Regions from separate parts of the Homo sapiens genome. Here region 1 is linked to region 2. The links are contacts of gene promoters, found by promoter capture Hi-C in human tissues and cell types (Jung and others, 2019). All regions are on one chromosome and are shown on one strand. Each heading gives the region's core, a stretch centred on a gene start or on the middle of the fragment in contact. The rest is flanking DNA. Distances are from core to core; before and after follow the strand shown.

Evidence for each region. Contacts are between HindIII fragments. The study calls those that stand out against the background at their distance.
Region 1: a fragment that was not itself captured here is called in contact with the fragment with the promoter of NKIRAS2 in region 2 in 1 of the 25 tissues and cell types used here (dorsolateral prefrontal cortex).

What each region holds. Positions count from the first base shown.
Region 1 is chr17:43,114,075-43,118,754 of GRCh38, reverse strand. It overlaps BRCA1 (BRCA1 DNA repair associated), which reads left to right. Exons shown (of 23, transcript NM_007294.4): 3 at 2,976-3,029. Among named protein-coding and RNA genes, the nearest start is that of BRCA1, 8.9 kb to the left of the region's middle. The HindIII fragment of the contact is 5,789 bases long and covers 225-4,680 here.
Region 2 is chr17:42,017,023-42,022,031 of GRCh38, reverse strand. It overlaps NKIRAS2 (NFKB inhibitor interacting Ras like 2), which reads right to left and starts at 1,942. Exons shown (of 4, transcript NM_017595.6): 1 at 1,828-1,942; 2 at 361-468. The coding sequence starts at 454. It overlaps DNAJC7 (DnaJ heat shock protein family (Hsp40) member C7), which reads left to right and starts at 4,593. Exons shown (of 14, transcript NM_003315.4): 1 at 4,593-4,692. The coding sequence starts at 4,616. RefSeq lists silencers at 1,649-2,058, 4,285-4,434 and enhancers at 4,545-4,954, 4,185-5,009. The HindIII fragment of the contact is 10,906 bases long and covers 1-5,009 here.

The DNA.
Region 1 (4,680 bases), core at 1,870-4,369, 1.1 Mb before region 2:
ATTCAGAAGAAAGCTAAAGGCCGGGTATAGTAGCTCACACCTGTAATCCCAGCACTTTGGGAAGCCGAAGCAGGAAGATTGCTTGATGCCAGGCATTCAAGACCAGCATGGGCATCATAGTGAGATCCTGTCTCTACAAAAATTAATTAACATTAAAAATTAAAAAGATGGCTGGCATGGTGGCTCACTCCTGTAATCCCAGTACTTTGGGAGGCCAAGGCATGGTGGTGCATGCCTTTAGTCCCAGCTACTCGGGAGGCTGAGGCAGGAGAATCACTTGAATTCAGGAGGCGGAGGTTACAGAGAGCCGAGATGGTGCCACTGCACTCCAGCCTGGGCGACAGAACGAGACTCTGTCTGAAAAAAAAAAAGAAAATTAAAAAGACCAGAATAAAGCTAAAGATTTAAAATAGCCTATAGGTTCCTACCAGAAGTTACCAGCTACCTCTCTGATAGTCTTTCCCTACAATATCCTCCTGGATTATTACATTTTAGCACCTTGACCTATCTGATGTCCTGCATACACAGGCATGGTCCTGCTCAGGGTTTGCCTTCTCTGCTCCCTCTTTCTTGGAATGCTCTTCCCCTAATTGTTGCATAGTGTGTTTCTTTACATTATTAAGCTATCCTCTAGTCTCACCTCAGTGAAACCTTTCCTGACTCCCCCCATGTACATCTCACCCCCACATAGATATTGAACTACCTGTTTCCCCTTACCCTGCTTAATTTTTCTCTTTAATGCACTTATTCCCATGTATTCTTTAATTCCGTATCAACTGTCTACCACACTAGAATATGAGCTCTATGAGAGCAGGCTTTATTTTGTAAACTGCTACATTTCTATCTCCTAGAATAGTACTTGAATATAGTAGTAGATACTTAATAAACACTTGTTATATTAGTATAATAAATGAACTAATCTCAGGAATGCCTTGGTTTTGTGGATAGACAGGTAGGGATGGGAACTTGGGTGATGTATTTTCTGAAGTTTTTATTTTTAAGCTTATTATTATTTTGAGATGGAGTCCAGCTCTGTCGCCCAGGTTGGAGTACAGTGGCGCGATCTTGGCTCACTGCAACGTGCACTTCCCCGGTTCAAGCGATTCTCCTGCCTTAGCCTCCCAAGTAGCTGGGATTACAGGCGCATGCCACCATGCCCAGTTAGTTTTGGTATTTTTAGTAGAGACAGCGTTTCACTGTGTTGGCCAGGCTGGTCTCGAAATCCTGACCTCATGATCCGCCCGCCTCGGCCTCCCAAGTGCTGGGATTACAAGCATGAGCCCCCGTGTCTGGCCTTATTTTCTTTTTTTTGAGACAGAGTCTTCCTCTGTCACCTAGGCTGGAGTGCAGTGGCACGATATTGGCTCACTCTGCAACCTCCACCTCCAGGATTCAAGTGATCCTTCTACCTTAGTCTCCAAAGTAGCTGAGACCACAGGCATGCGCCACCACGCCCGGCTAATTTTTGTATTTTTAGCGTAGACAGGGTTTCACCATATTGTCCAGGATGATCTGGAACTCCTGAGCTCAGGTGATCCACCCACCTCAGCCTCCCAAAGTGCTAGGATTACAGGCATGAGGCACCATGCCCGGCCTTAAGCTTATCATTTTCTAAATTTCCTTTAGTGAGTACTTATTACACTGTTTTTACAAAGTAATCACAAACCAAACATCATGCCTCTTCTGAAGTGATCTAATAAGAGTACACAGTACCATCTGTAAAGTGTTCTTGCCAGAAAGTTGAACCTGAATGATTAAGCCTGTAAGTCTAGTTTATAGGAAATAAGGCTAGAGGAACAAGTTAAACCTCACCATAGGGTTATACAATCAGCAAAATCCAGAATGGGGGAAACTCCACAGGTCAAATGACCTAATTTTAAAAATAAATGACAAGGGAGAAAAAGTAAGAGACACCTATAGATCAGAAGACACTTGGGGCTGGGCATGGTGGCTCACACCTGTAATCCCAGCACTTTGGGAGGCCAAGGCAGGCGGATCACCTGAGGTCAGGAGTTCAAGACCAGCCGGCCAACATGGTGAAACCCCAACTCTACTAAAAATACGAAAAATCAGCCGGGCGTGGTGGCGCACGCCTGTAGTTCCAACTACCTGGGAGGCTGAGGCAGGAGAATCACTTGAACTTGGGAGGCAGAGGTTGCAGTGAGCCGAGATCGCACCATTGCATGCCAGTCTGGGCTACAAAAGCAAAACCCCATCTCAAAAAAAAGAAGACACTTGGGTTTGGGTGTGTTGGCTCATGCCTGTAAACCCCGTGCTGGGAGGATTGCTTGAGCCCAGGAGTTCAAGGCTGCAGTGAGGTATGTTTGCACCACTGCACTCCAGCCTAGGTGACAGAGTGTGACCTTATCTTAAAAGTAATAATAATTAAAATAATCTGGGGTAGGGGTGGATATGGGTGAAACAGCTTGGCCATGAGTTGATGGTTGTTGGACCAGGGTGATGGTCCATATAGTTCATTTTATTATTTTATTTACTTGAAATTTTGAAATACTTGAAATTTTCCATATTAAGTTAAAAAGGCATTTACAGTAAACAAAAAAAAGTTCTAGGAAGGAATTCAAAAGAAATATAAGCAGAAAATTTTGTCTTTATGGAGCTTAAAGATGAGATGTGCACCCACAGTGATAGTGCAGAAAAATATATCACTGGAAATGAATTCGTACGAACTATTATCAACTAATCTTTTAAATGCTGATGATAGTATAGAGTATTGAAGGGATCAATATAATTCTGTTTTGATATCTGAAAGCTCACTGAAGGTAAGGATCGTATTCTCTGCTGTATTCTCAGTTCCTGACACAGCAGACATTTAATAAATATTGAACGAACTTGAGGCCTTATGTTGACTCAGTCATAACAGCTCAAAGTTGAACTTATTCACTAAGAATAGCTTTATTTTTAAATAAATTATTGAGCCTCATTTATTTTCTTTTTCTCCCCCCCTACCCTGCTAGTCTGGAGTTGATCAAGGAACCTGTCTCCACAAAGTGTGACCACATATTTTGCAAGTAAGTTTGAATGTGTTATGTGGCTCCATTATTAGCTTTTGTTTTTGTCCTTCATAACCCAGGAAACACCTAACTTTATAGAAGCTTTACTTTCTTCAATTAAGTGAGAACGAAAAATCCAACTCCATTTCATTCTTTCTCAGAGAGTATATAGTTATCAAAAGTTGGTTGTAATCATAGTTCCTGGTAAAGTTTTGACATATATTATCTTTTTTTTTTTTTTTGAGACAAAGTCTCGCTCTGTCGCCCAGGCTGGAGTGCAGTGGCATGATCTTGGCTCACTGCAACCTCCGCCCCCCGAGTTCAAGCGATTCTTCTACCTCAGCCTCCCAGGTAGCTGGGACTACAGGCACCCGCCACCATGCTTGGCTAATTTTTGTACTTTTAGTAGAGATAAGGTTTCACCATATTGGCCAGGCTGGTCTCGAACTCCTGACCTTGTGATCCACCTGCCTCGGCCTCCCAAAGTTCTGGGATTACAGGCGTGAGCCACCACACCCGACTGACATATATTATCTATTAGGATGTAACATCATTTTGAACAGTGTTTTGTATTTTTTGTGTCCATCAGTGAAAGCAAACTGCAAGCAGTTTTGAAATAAGCACATTGTGTTTGAGCCTTCCCAGTTTCTCCTTTCTGTTCATTTCTGCATATCCTTATGCATTCCCCCTTCTAAGGGTCAGTGTTTGCCCGCTTTGTAATCATTGTGAAGACAGGAAAGGACCTGATACCAGTTTCTATTTAGGCCAAAATTCATTTATAGCAGTGATTCAAGTTATATTTACGTATTTGATGATCTTGTCTTTTGAAATGAAAATGTTTGTTTCTTAATAAAAGAATTTCAGAAAAAGTAGAGTAGGTAATTTAGTAGAACAAGTGGGCTTTCTCCTTTTCTTTATGTTAAGCTATGGCTCACATCTTACCTTAAATGTCAACTAATTTGTTTTTAAGTATTTATGTACCTGGTACATAACCTGGTACCAGGTACAAACTATGTACTTGGTAAAAAGTTTATTAGCACAAAAAGGTATATGATGCAAAGTATACTTCCCTCTTACCCTACAACCCCTGCCTCCCTGTTCCCTCCCCAGACAACCACAATGATCAATTTCTTATGTATCCTTTGAGGAATTTTTAAATTCCAGAGTTCTTAACTTGGGGTTTATGAATAGTCTTTATGAATTTCCTAGAATTATATTTAAATTGTATTCAAAACTATGGCCATGTACATTTTTCTGGGAAGATAGTCCATAATTTTCATCTGAGTGAGCTAAGATCATGCCACTGCATTCCAGCCTGGGCGACAAGAGGGAGACTCAAAAAAAAAAAAAAAAGTCCCAGTATTTACTACAGAGAGCTAAAGATTAACCTTTAAAGCCCTGGGGCTTTCAATTTATCTGGATGAGAATCTTTCTGGAATGAACTGTATGTTTTCTTGTCAGCTTGAGTAACAAATGCTGAACATACTATACTATTATTACAGGGACTCAAGGGCCCAGTGTGGTAGCTCCTGCCCATAACCCCAGCACTTTGGGAGGCCAAGGCAGGAAGATCACTTAAGGCCAGGAGTTCGAAGCTGTAGTGAGCTATGATCACACCACTGCACTCCAGCCTAGATGACAGAGTGAGACCCTGTCTTTTTTTTTTTTT
Region 2 (5,009 bases), core at 693-3,192:
CTCCAAGTTCGTTAGGCTGGTCTCGAACTCCCGACCTGAGGTGATCCACCCGCCTCAGCCTCCCAAAGTGCTCGGATTACAGGCGTGATCCACCGCACCCGGCCAATGGACATTAATTTTATGCTAATTCCATGCTAAGCACAAGTGTGACATGACAGCTTCTCTTTCCTATCTTGGACATAGGGCTTTCTCCCTCCGTATTTGTTCAGTGTTGTAGAGTTGATCTGTTACAATGTAAGTTTTATTCTTCCAGGGGGGAAAACCACCAGGAGCAGCTTTTAGCCTGTGTGTGTTGTGATCAAGTCCTATTCCTTATTTTTCAACTTCTTCCACTGTTCCTCCCCCTCCAACAACACTCACCCACTACATGGTTCCCATACAGAAGCTGCTCCAGGATTGAAGTTTTGCCCACAGACGCCTGGCCACACACGACCACCTTGCAGCTCTTCCCCATGCTTAGTTTTCAACCTTGAAGAACAGAAGCACGCTGGGTAAGGTGAGGAAAGAAAGCATCAACACAGAAGGCAGTTACTAGCAGATGTTTTCTGGTGGACAAAAACAAAAACCAAAAAAACAGAAGGCAGAACGTCCATAACTGAGAGTTCTAAACTGAATGTATAGTTCTAAACTGAATGTATAGTTCCAGGGTTTCAGCACCATCCCAATGCTAGTCAGAGGAAACGGATGTCTCCATGTCTACTACTGGATGGTAAGCTGTTATTTTATTCGTCTTTGTTATCCCCAGTACCTAGCCAGTATCTGTCACAGGGCAGGTGCTTGGAAATGCTGCCATAAAGGGAGAGGAGAGTCACTGGCCACTGGGCCAGGTTCCCTTCTGTGCGCAAGATGTAGAGGACCAATTAGTAAAGGGAGCTCAGCCCAGCTTCCTCTCTTTAACCATGACCCCATGGAGAATTAAGCAGGAACAGTGTTTTGTGTGGCTGTCTGAAGCCATCTGCTCCCTGGGGGGACTGAGCAAATAAAAAGGATAATCTGGGGCAGGGCACGGTGGCTCACGCCTGTAATCTCAGCACTTCGGGAGGCCGAGGTGGGCAGATCACAAAGTCAGGAGTTCGAGACCAGACTGGCCAACATAGTGAAACCTCATCTCTACTAAACATACAAAAAATTAGTCAGGCGTGGTGGCGGGTGCCTGTAATCCCAGCTACTTGAGAGGCTGAGGCAGGAGAATCGCTTGAATCCAGGAGGCGGAGATTGCAGTGAGCCAAGAATATGCCACTGCACTCCAGCCTGGGCGGCAGAGCAAGACTCCGTCTCAAAAAAAGACAATCTGCTTTCCTGTACGACTCATCTGGACAACAATCAATTCCCTCTAAACTCCAGTCAAGTCTATGGCTAAAATGAACATAAGACAAGAGAGAAAAGAATGAAGAAACCTACGGAAAAAAAGGCTTCAGAAAGGACATACTTTTTGCTGCCCTTGGACTGACAGACACAAAAGAGAAAGCTCAGATACAGAAACCCTAAGAGGTCCCAGACAGATATCTCCCCGAAGGCAAACTTCCAAACACAAGCCCCCCAAAAGCTCCAGACAAAGATCCCCCCCAGAGAGCAGAGATAGATCACTCCCAAAGACGGTCCCTAACAGAAACCTCTCCAGGGGAAGCTCCTGACACAGACCCCCTCTCCATATAGCGAGCCCCACAATAAAGGACACCATAAGAGTGGGCCAGAGGTGCCTCCGCCACAGATTTTCTCACGGGGGAGCCCCCAGAGGGAATGAGAGGCAGAGACCAGCCACCTAAAGCGGCCCGGAGGCGGAGGCCGATCCTAGCGCCGGACGAGCCTCGCCTCCCAGGTCCGTACCTCCCGGGGCCCCCGCAGCACCAGCCGGGCCCTCCGAGCTCGCGGGGACCAGGGGAGGGGCAGCGCCGCCGCAAAGGCTCCAGTCTTCCTCCAGAGTCGGTGTAGGCTCCTCCAGGCCCCGCCCCCGCCGCCTGCCCGCTCCCCAGCTTCCGTCAGGCAAGACGAATTCCGGCAGCGGAGAGAGAGCGCGGACCGCGCAGCTCCCCCAGAGGCCGGCGGGAGAATGACGGCCAGGACCTGGCCTGGGTGTGCGCGGGAGCCCAAGGTTCTAGACTCCCTGGACGCGGGCCGCTGGGTGTTCTGGTGTCTCTGAGGCCCAGATGTTCTCTCTGTAAAGGCGATCAGAGTACAGTAACTCTTCGTTTACTCAATCATTTATTCGTCAAATGTTTTCTGAGCATCATCTGTCTGTGCCTGGTGCAGGGCCATATACTGAGAGAAAGTGGACGAGTTAGACATGGTGGCTGCCCATCAGAACTCACGGTCTAGAGAAGCTAGATGTCTAACAACTACTGAGGTGCTGTGGAGCACAGCAAAAGGGCATTTAACGTTGAGTCAGCAGACACTGAAGGGCCTGGGGGAAAGGGTGTTCTAGGGTGGAGGAAACGGCTACAAGTCATGGCATTTTCTGAAACTATGAGAACTTGGGTTCAATATTGGTGGTAGAAAGGACCTAAATATTGGTACTCAAATTAAATTATTTAAAAAAAGAAACAGATAATCAAAGGCTTTGTGTGGTAGGCCAAAGAGATCAAATTGACGGCAATGGAAAGCCATTGCCAATGAAGAGACATGATCAGTCCCTGAGGAAGGTCACTCTGGCAGAAGAGGGAAGACTGAACAGAGATGAAATTAGAGACCGATTAGGAGACTATTGATGTATTCCAAGTTTTTTTTTCTGTTGTTTTGTTGTTGTTGTTGTTGCCGTTTTTGAGACAGGGTCTTGCTCTTTTCTCCATGCTGGAGTACATTGGTGTGATCATAGCTCACTGCAGCCTCTAACTCCTGGGCTCAAGTGATCCTCCTGCCTCAGCCTCCCAAATAGCTGGGACTACAGATGCATGCCACCACACCCAGCCTATTCCAAGATTTTAAAAAATGATGAGCGCCTGAATCGGGATGGAAAGGTGGAGATAGATTTGGGAAATATTTGGTAGGAGAATCAACAAAACTTGGCAACAAATTGGAAGCCAAGAGTGAGAATGGTTTAATCCATTTAACAAGATACGGAATTTAGGAAAGATAATAATTACATCCAACATTTGTTTTTTCTGTTGTTGAGGTGTGGGTAGACAATGAAAAAGTTAAATTTAAATATGGTAAGCCTTGGGGATTTGTGAAACATACAAGAGATATCCAGTAGATAGTTGGATATACAGCTGTGGAAGCTGAAGAAAGGTCTAGGTTGGAGATATGAAAAGTTGAGAGTCATCAACAGATGGAAGTAAAGCTGTGGGAATAAATGAGTTGCCTTAGATAGAACATAAAGTGGGAAGATGGTGAGACAGGTTGGCTAGCATTAGACTGGACTATGAGCCACTGGCAGGCAGGGCAGGTGGTCTGTAAGTCTTGTGCCCTCACAACCTAGCACAGAGTAGGCGTTTTGGAAAGGGCTGAGTGATTGGCTCAACGAATGACCCCTCCTTTCCAACCTAGTGAGCTTGTCCTATCCCTCCCTACTCAGTGGTCGCTGTGGTTTCAGCTCCCTCCACACTGGGATAGGCAGAGTATGAGCATTGGCACATGCTGTTTTCCTGGAACAAACAGGTAAATCCTTTTAAAATTCCTTTGCCCTCTTCTTATTTTACTCTTAGCTTTACATTGTAAAGCTACTCCTCATACTCCTCCAATTTAACCCCAGAAAGCTCCAATTTAATTCAGCTCCACAAATAGTCGTTTGGGTGAGGGAATAACAACAAAGACAGTTAAACTGTGCCCTTGTCCCCTATGAATTCTCAATCCAGACCGCATTCGGCAAGGCAAGCGTGATGAGTAGAGAGTTTATATAAGAGGTGGGAGTACTGGGGACACAAGAGCAAGGACCTCACCCCGCGAGCTTCCTTATAAACTCCAGGGCAGGGTCTGGGGCGCCATGTGTCAGCTTTCCTAGGCTTAATGCTGAGATGGCACTCCCAGGCGGCTGACATGAAAGGAGCCTTGTAAAAGGGTCAGCGTCATTAGGGTGATGAACCAGTTGGTGTTTGGAGATCCGGAGTGGATGAAAGGCGCAGGGTGAAGACGCCCTGCGTTCCCCTGGCTTGACTGGGCAGGGCTTCCAGAGAACGATGAAAGCTGGGGGAACTGAGCTCAAAGTGTCTCTTGACTTTCCCGGGAAGAAGCTGTGGACACACTCCAAGGTCGGAAAGGTAGCAGTGGGGACTCCTTCCCTACAGAGTCTTGGGTCACCTGGTCCCCACGCAACCCAGACTCCACGGAGCCTTTCAGGAAGACTCTCTAGGATTGGAAGTTGCTATGGCAATGAGGCTCTTGGAATACTGAAAGCAGCCAAGCCCTAGAGAGGCTACCACCGGTACACCCCGCCTTCCCACCCACGGGTAAAGTGGCGCCGCCTACGCACCGGCACAGCCCCTGGGCTCCCGCCCCGGCGCGGAGACCACCGTGGACATCCGGGGGCGGGAGGCCGCTCTGGCCCCAAGCGGAGCCTCTCTCTGGTAGACGAGCCCGAGGGAGCCCTTCTGGGCGCGGCGCCGCGGAGCTGCTCTATGCTCCAACCGGAAGTGCTCTTCACCGCCGGCCTCCCACCCAGCTCTCTGGTCCCGGCGGTAAGATGGCGGCTGCCGCGGAGTGCGATGTGGTAATGGCGGCGACCGAGCCGGAGCTGCTCGACGACCAAGAGGCGAAGAGGTAACCGGGTAGCAGGGTAGTAGAGGAGGCGACCTGCAGCTCCGTGGCTCAGGGAAACTCGTTCCTGCCATGATGCAGCCCCCAGCTGTTGAGGCGATGCCCCGCCCTCCGCAAACACCCCCCCATCTGAGATCAAGGCCGGATGGACCCCCTGAAGGGGCGCTCTTGGGGGTCGGCCTTCCTCTCCCGCTTCCGCCTGGCGTAGGAGCTGAGGCATGGCCTTGTTCTCCAGCTGAGAGGACGATCGTCCTTATAGGAGAGGCCGAGTCTCCGAGGGCAATTTCAGAGGTCTGGTGCGAGGTGGGGGAAGCGGCGCG